Linked DNA regions of Homo sapiens: all the other regions are linked to region 2. The links are contacts of gene promoters, found by promoter capture Hi-C in human tissues and cell types (Jung and others, 2019). All regions are on one chromosome and are shown on one strand. Each heading gives the region's core, a stretch centred on a gene start or on the middle of the fragment in contact. The rest is flanking DNA. Distances are from core to core; before and after follow the strand shown. Region 1 overlaps LOC105379034 (a long non-coding RNA gene). Region 2 holds the start of ENC1 (ectodermal-neural cortex 1). Region 3 overlaps LINC02122 (long intergenic non-protein coding RNA 2122).

What was found. Contacts are between HindIII fragments. The study calls those that stand out against the background at their distance.
Region 1: a fragment that was not itself captured here is called in contact with the fragment with the promoter of ENC1 in region 2 in 1 of the 25 tissues and cell types used here (H1 embryonic stem cells).
Region 3: a fragment that was not itself captured here is called in contact with the fragment with the promoter of ENC1 in region 2 in 1 of the 25 tissues and cell types used here (mesendoderm cells).

What each region holds. Positions count from the first base shown.
Region 1 is chr5:73,968,074-73,970,773 of GRCh38, reverse strand. LOC105379034 (a long non-coding RNA gene) reads right to left here. Exons shown (of 4, transcript XR_001742745.1): 2 at 2,119-2,201. Among named protein-coding and RNA genes, the nearest start is that of LINC02122, 130 kb to the left of the region's middle. The HindIII fragment of the contact is 3,353 bases long and covers 1-2,700 here.
Region 2 is chr5:74,639,355-74,642,054 of GRCh38, reverse strand. It overlaps ENC1 (ectodermal-neural cortex 1), which reads left to right and starts at 1,327. Exons shown (of 3, transcript NM_003633.4): 1 at 1,327-1,748. It also overlaps a transcript of HEXB not described here. RefSeq lists enhancers at 1-341, 342-1,057, 1,519-1,878 and a silencer at 1,219-1,478. The HindIII fragment of the contact is 27,146 bases long and covers 1-2,700 here.
Region 3 is chr5:74,092,750-74,095,449 of GRCh38, reverse strand. All of the region lies in intron 1 of LINC02122 (long intergenic non-protein coding RNA 2122), which reads left to right. Among named protein-coding and RNA genes, the nearest start is that of LINC02122, 9.0 kb to the left of the region's middle. The HindIII fragment of the contact is 5,035 bases long and covers 1-2,700 here.

The DNA of each region.
Region 1 (2,700 bases), core at 93-2,592, 670 kb after region 2:
CTCCTCCCAGGAGGGAAAAGTGACTTGGCAGTACTCCCAGAGCCAAAGAAGGAAACCAGCCCCAGTGAGAGAAATGTCTACTGGAAAGTAAATGAGCCCTTCTAATGAGCTGCTTACATGGCTGCACCTGATATTCCAAGTATTTCCTCCTGTCCTAGCCCACTCTAGGGCAGAATCCCCAACCATCTGTATGTGAAAATACAGAGATGGTTATTCTATGGAAAAAACCACTAACTCCATGAGTTCTAGAATGCCTACAAGATCTATTGAAGATTAGGCATCAATAACCAATGTCAATGCTGAGCAAAACACAAAAAAGGTTTCCTAAAACAGAGCTCGGTGTTTGCTGTTCACTTTAATTTTAGCAGACTATTCAATCCAACTGGGGCCGTGGGTGAGAAGAATTAGATAGTCTAGAAATGTAGCTGTATTATGTTGTGTCTGTTTGCTCTTTCTTTTTCTTTTTTAATAGAGATAGTAGACTCACTGTGTTGACCAGGCTGGCCTCAAGCCATCTTCTCGCCTCAGCCTCCCAAGTAGCAGGGCCTACAAGTGTGTGCCACCAAGCGGAATTGTGTCTATTTTCTAATCTGCTTCATTAATGAGCAGATTTATTTGGGTGCCATTAAATAATGATAAATTATGAAGCTGCAAACAAAACTTGAGGCACCTGAAATCTTTCTGATAGTATTGTCAAATGCCTTCATAATACTGTCAACCGTACAAAATCAGGAATGCTCTTATAAACTATACTGTTAAAGATAAGGGATTCCCATCCCAGCTATTATGCACAGCTTGATTAATCTTTTTAATTAGAAAATTTGAAATATAATGCATAATATCTCAAAGAAGTTCCTGCCTAAGGCAATATTGTGTAAATTGTTTTTTTTAACGATCCTTTTTGAGTCTCATGTTGTTTTTGTTTCTTCTGCACATAATTATTTAATGTCTCTCCTTTGTTCTAGTCCTTGTGCAAACTTTTTTTTTTTTTTTTTTGGTGCTTTTTTATGGGCTTGTCTCTCTTTCTCACATTTCCTGCCATGGAGTAGGAGGATACATTTTTATTTTGTAATAAGGTTGCTTAAATCGCCTCCTCAATCTCTCTCTGGAGAACAGGGTTTCAATAAAAAAAAAAAACGTTTCATGGGCTCTTAGAATGTCTTTCCTTTGTTGCTCACTGCTTGGGAGATGGGAAGAAATGGAAACTGTTGTCGTAGATCTGGGTCTGGCAATGAAAAAAACATACAGGGCTAGGGAGATTAAATACAAATTGGGAGGGGTGGGGGATGCTCAGCACTTCTAACAGCAGCCAGCCCCCACCACCAACCTCCCTCCCTGGGGCAAACAGGAAAGATAAGTGGCTGTCCCGTTGGGTTAGTCTTCCCACACTCCCTTGCTGGCTGCACTTCTCTGCTCCCAGGGGCCAGTCTGTACAGGGGAGTTAGTGTTAGAGTAACTGCTTTTATCTCTCTTGAAAATATTTATGGCTAAACACTGGAAATTGCTCTGGGATGCATCCCTATAAATTTCAAGACCCCCACCTTTCCCTATCTTGAAATTCAAGATGAATTAATCCTAGAGTGAGAAAAGGAAGGAAGAACTTTCAAGGGTGAAACTTGATAGCAGTTTCTTATCTTATTGGCAACTCTCGATCGGGTGACCGATCGCTGACTGGGGAAACACAATTCCTGTAGAGAGGTTCAAAGCCTCCCAACAGAAACTGGAGATAGCTCAAAGATGCTTCACCCTGTTTTGGAGATAGTGACACCTCATTCTGCAGGAAGATGTGCCTACAAGCCTCCAGGAAAAGAGGCCGCCCACTCCAAAACCGCACCGTGGCAAGAAGGGAATATTTGGAATGCAGAACATTTGGATGCAGCCCCATCCAGGGCTTTGTGGAAATTCAGCTGCAAGGCCTCCTTTGTCTTGTGTGTGAATTTTAGGAGACTCCCTTTCATCTGATTCAAGCTGGGTTCTAAATGTCACATGAAGAATCCAGTTCGGCATTCAGACAAGACTTACCATCAGAGTGGCTTCAAAAGCTCAGGTGCCCCTAAGGCTCCTCACCCAGCCTGTTGCAGGGTGAGTCCCAGGCTTTGAGTGTAGGGTCACACTGACCTGCATTTGCTTTTGGCTCTGCCTGTTATCCATGGTGTGAGGAGGGTAAGTTTCTTAAACTCTCTGAGCCTCCTTTTCTTCATCTGTAAAATAGAAATAAGAAATTTATTTCATATAGTAATTGTGAGAACTAAATAAGACAACACGCATAAATCTCTTGCACAGTATCAGGGACAGAGTAATCCCTAGGGAAAAGCCAGTTGTCGCTGTCATTGGTGAAATGGTGATGTGATGGTTTCCCAGCCACCTCTGGGTTCTTGGTGATTTCAATCCTAGCAGAGGCTGAGAGAGTAAATGCTTACTGCAGAGCCTGCTTCTGGTGCCTGGCCCAGACCCAAGGATGGGCCCAATGTCTTGTTAGGAAATTTAGCCCACCTTGACATGTAAGGCACCAAAGCCTCCCCATCAGTGCTCTCTAAAAAGAATTTACATTACAGACAAATCTCCCTGACATATAAGTAACACATGTTGAGCACATAAATATCAGCATTTTGGCTGGAATCAAGTATCACAGTCTTATGCCGTCAAGTACTATTCATGACCCTCTTCATGAATCCTTGTCGTGAGACCTCAGTGGTGAGC
Region 2 (2,700 bases), core at 78-2,577:
CAGTTTAAATCGCTCCTGCGCCTAGTGTTTTAAAGCAAGCTGGGAGGCGAAGCGCGGGCGCTTGGGGACGCGGGGACCCGGGGACGGAATAAACTCTGTCGTGGGGCCCTCACTCTCGAGCTGCAGAGCTGGGACATTGTTGCTAAGTGACTACGAGCCAGGCAATTCACATCTCCCTGGGCCTCGGTTCCCCACCTGTAAAACAAGGGGGCTGGACCGGTCATCTATCCCGTTCATTTATAGACTTAGCTCCAAATACCGAATAAAAGACAGATATTTTAACTCCCAGTGGAAAGACAAGCCTCTAGTTGCAAAGATAAATGGGATTCGTAAAAGTGATCACCACGCGAGATTATTTTTCGAATCGCCTTCCCTTCTCCTGACACGCGGGACTATTAAACGTGTGTGTGTGCTGGGCCATTTCTTTACTGAACTCCAAACTAACACCACCGAGCGATAAAAAACAGGAGAAGGTGATGGAGGCTTAATCGCTAGGAGAGGAGGCGGCGTGGCTGCTGCTTTGAGGAGTTCACTTTGAATCAAGCGGCCGCGGCGATTGGCTGAAAAGCACGTGGTGCGCGCCCCGCAGGACTGCGCCCCGGCTGCCCCTGCAGTCGCCTGGCTTAGGGCAGAGTCCAGCCGGGGGTGCCGCACCCACTGGGGAGTGGGGAGGGAGGACACATAGGAAATGCCTGGGGCTGGAGTCTCTTTGGCTCTCTGCCAGCAAGAAACTTAAACGTCCTGGCTTGCTCAACCCGAGTGTCCCTAAACTGTCCAGACTTTTGCCCGTCCATTGCCACTATCTCTCCCCACTCTGGGTGTCCTACCCAAGGCGCTGTCTATGCGTGCCCAGGGCCTGTCCTGCGGATACCCAGCTCGCCCCTTGCAGCCCTTTTTAGAGCATCTCGCGGGCTCTGGCATCACCAAGCGCACAGCCCCGGGCTGCGCTCCCCTAAGGTGGGTCCCTCAGATCCGGGGCTGTCCATTAACCAGGCTGGCCCAAAGAGGCGCAGACACTCGAACCCGGGAAAACTTATTTTATTCTCGGTTCCCGGGGTTGCAGCTGCCAGCGGCTGAGACAGTGCGTCCGCTTTGTCTCTCTGCACTCCCCGCAGCCCCCCTCTCCCGCTTCCTCTCCCGATTAACTCCCCCGACACGCTCTTCTCTAGCTCCTCTCCTCCTCCCACTCCTTCTCCTCCTCTTCCTCCTCCTACACCACAGGCCGCGCTAATGCGCTTCCTCCCTCCCCCGGTGTCGGTCTCTTTGCATACGCGCCCCCTCCCCTCCCCGCCGCGCCACTTATAGCGGGGCGCACGGCGGCGGGGCGCAGACTGCTCTGGCAGCCGGAGAGGAGGCGGTGCGGCGGTGGCGCTGCGGAGACCCGGTCCAGACGCCTGGCGGCCGCCGGCACACAAGGCGCTTTCTAGCTCCCTCCCCCGAGCGCACAGCCCGCCTCCTTCCGCGGCGCCTGCAGTGGCAGGCTTGCTCTGCCCTACCGTGACGCGCTCCGGAGACGCTCTGCGGGTCCTGGACACCGGGTCCGCGGCGTGGGGACGACAGACGGAGGCGAACGCCATCGGTAGCCGGTCCGCGAGCCATCGTTCGGGGCGCAGTCCTCTCCCCGGCTGGCCCTCCTTTCTCCGGGGCATTCGCCACCGCTTCCCTGGGCTGAGACGACCGGTTCGTCGCCTCCTTGCCCGTGACCGTCGCTAGAACTCAGTTGTGCGTTGCGGCCAGTCGCCACTGCTGTAAGTTTCCCCCACTGCCCCGGACCTGTTGCAGGCGCTGCGGGCTTCAGGGGCTGCTTCGGCTGCAGGGGTGTGTTCGCGAGGGGTGAGCGTGCTCCGAGCACTCGGGAGCTTCGACTAGAGGGCAAGGGGAGCTCTTCTCGGTGCGGAGATCACGGTGCCCGCCGCTGCCCTCCCACAGCAGGCAGAAGCCGGGCATCGCCGGAGAGGTCGACCGGCCTCCCCTCCGCGGTGCAATGTCTGGGGCGAGCCGCTGGGGAAGCGAGGAGCCGAGCTAAGGATACAGTCAGCCTCTCTCCTCTGCGGAAAGCAGCGCTTTCCTGGGGGTGAATGTCGCGCTGCGTCGCTCCCCGCAGCCTCCAGGGCCGAGCGCGCGGGATGGTTGGCCCACGTTGCATCCTCCCCGGCTTGGAGGAAAGTTGGGGCCATGCACAGACACCCTGAGTGCGGGCATGTTCACTGCGGCGGAAATGTCTATAGAGAATGAATGAAAACTGCTTTCTGAAAAACTAGTTTCTTGATCTGTCGTGTTAACATTATTAGTTACAAAGGATAGGAATTGGTGGGCCTGGAGATGAAACACTGAATTTATCCACATGCGGTTTGGTGTCACACAGGCATGGCCAGCTTGTTAAATAGCGTTGCAAGTGTTAATAAAAAGACTCTGGCAAGAAGCTACTTTTGTTAACAAGATCTTTATAATGTTCTATTGTTACCGGTAATGTAAATGCCCAGAAAAAAATCTGCTTAGTTTCTCTTTTGATTGGATTGAGATCAGGTTCAAAACCTGGAGAAGGGTGCGGGACGCTAAGCATTGGAGGCAGAGAGCCTGAGTTAGGAGCATGAAGTGAACTGAAGTTACTGTAACTGAAGCCCTTTTGATGTTCACAGTAATAGCAGCCCTTTCTCTGTCTTCTTTGCAGACGTAGGTTAAGTACATGTGTGCATTTTC
Region 3 (2,700 bases), core at 114-2,613, 550 kb after region 2:
ACACCTTCAAGAGATTTGAAGCAATGAAAGGATCACTACAGATGGACAAGAAAAATCTCTCGCCATAGGTATGAGGTTCTAGTAGGCAATATAGTGTGGACTGCTTACTGCTCCAGCATTCTGGAATACAACCCCATTTCTCAAATCCTTAGTTGAGAAAAGACTCATGTTAGCTTAAGCCAGGAAAGAATTTACTCAACAGTGCTTCCAAAAACCCAAGGGCAAGCATGCAGTGGATCTCAAAATAAACTGGAATCTGAGAGAGACAGCCATGAGGAATCTGACTCTCCTATCTCTAGTCATAATGGGTCTTGTTTCTTCTCTTTTTACACCTTGGCTTCCTCTGCTTCCCTGGACACACCTTTTGAAAATATAACCAATAATGATGTTTATCCACCTGGAGAAGACTAGATCTCTCTCCACTTCATTCCGTCTTCCTAAGAAATATTCCTATTGGCCCAACCTGGCCCAGTGACTATTGGGCCCAATCTGGGCCCAGTGACTGTGGCCGGGGTTGATTCATATCTTACAAACGTGGCCACCAGGAGCCATGGTGGGGGATGGGGAGAGCAGTTTCCAAAAAAAGGCTAGGGTTAGGATGAGGTAAGTTTCTAGACACATAATCCAATAGGTTTTCAGCATGGTTCCTGATTAAGGACATGGCCCGTAAAATATACCAGACCTTCCGTATGCCCTTAGTTGGATATAAATACAAGCCAAAGTAGACTGAAGAGGGGGGCCTCATGGTTCGAGACCTGAGTTTGTGTTGCTGCTTTGTGGCCTGAGGCATGGTCCCCTCTCTGGACATCTGTTTCCTCTTCTGAAACATGAAATTGCATTAAGCCAGTTCTACATAAAAGTATCACAAATCTTATTAAAATTCTAATATTTATAACTCATTGACAATAAGACTACTCAGGTTAAACTTAATTAGAAATGGTCTTTATCTTTTATTGAAGTTATAACAACTGATGTTTCCGGTGAGAAGTTCTGATGGGGTGATATTAATGTTTCTGAATACTAAAAGTCAGCGAGAGTAAATTCATGACTAATTCATAAATGCAGTTTTGTGGACAAACTGCTGCAAAATAGAATCCATTCAGGGGTGAATAATAATAATAATAGCTACCATGATCTTAGCCAGTAATAGCATTGGCTGTCTGCCAGGCTTTGTGCTAAGATTTCATTTAGTCGTCACAGTAATACTGTAAGGTACATACTATTTTTAATCCCTGTTTTACAGATTTAAGAAAATTGAACTTTGGCTTAGAAAGGCCATCCAGTAAGAATGTGGCTGGACCAAGTTTCAAACCCACTTCTATTGAAAAAGATTGAAAACTGTTGCATTAGCTGATCTCTGCCTCTTAAACTAAATGTGATGAAATTAATAAATTATACAATTATACAATATGATGTGTGTGTATATTGTATACTTTTCATCTCTGATACTCCACACATTCAATGCATGTGTCAGAAAGGCATAGATGTATATTAATGTTTAAATATTACCTATTCCCTTGTCTGAAATGCATGACAGTGTTTCAATCACAGAGCCAGGCACATGCAGGGAATTTTGCAAGCACAAGCTCAACTATATGAGAGTGCAAAGTTAAGTTTTTATTGGCCTGAGTATGGTGATTCAAGCCTTGATGTTTTACTACTTGGGCCATGTGGTTTGGGAGGTGCTGTTGTAGGGTGTGGGGGTCTGTGACTGCTCACGTGTGCACACGTGTGTGTGTGCATGGCTGGGTATTTTCCAGAGTGGAACAAGAAGGATTAACTTTCAGCATTTGGCTCACCCTAACCTATAGCAGATGGGCACTGGCTTTAAGTTCTCATAAAAGTCAACCCTAGAGACTTGTTAAATAATTTATCCTCAACTTTGGAAGAGCAAAGGAATAAGGTGATTAGGAAAAATGGAAAGCCACATGATAATGTGCCATTGATGGAGTGGGGTTGTCTTTCGCTGTGGTACATGGTGAATGTAGCAGCGAATGAATTTGGAAAGTAGTGGGGAGAGAGTCGGACCTGGTTGGGAGAGCCCTTGGAGCAGAGAGCTCCTGACTTTTATCCCCAGCAGCTGCAGCAGAGAAAGTGAGAAAACCTCCATTCTTTACCCAGGGAATGGCCCCAACTTTAAGACATATTGAACCATGCTAATTTTAAGGCCTCCCAATATAACCATTTTATTTCATCCAGCTGTGGGGCCTGACTTTGGGCTGGAAAGGAGAGCCAGAAAAACAGGTAGGGCAGAGCTGGAAAAATAAATCCACAGGATGCCTGTCAGTACCTGGTTTTAAGCTGAGGGTGTGGGAGCTGTAGCAAAGTCACATGGGTGATTTAACATAGACCACCACCTCCTACTGGCTTTCAATGACCTCCTTTCCTGTTCCCCACTGCCAGCAGCTGGAGAAGTGAAAGTCCTTCAAGCTTCAATCAAGAAGCTCTCCTACTTTCAGTCCCTTTTAATAAGATGCCATGAGCATAGCTCACTTGTTAAATAGTCACTCATCCATTGAAACAACTTTAAGGAGGCAGGGCTAGTCAGGATCCATGGTTGCAAACAACAGAAACTATTTCTAGTTAATTTAAGCAGAAAAGGAAGTTATTGGAAGGAGACGGAATAACTTGCAAAACCAAGAATGTGCATGGAGAACTAAGATTGGGCGATGTCCAGGTGCCAACGGAGTCCAGGTGCTG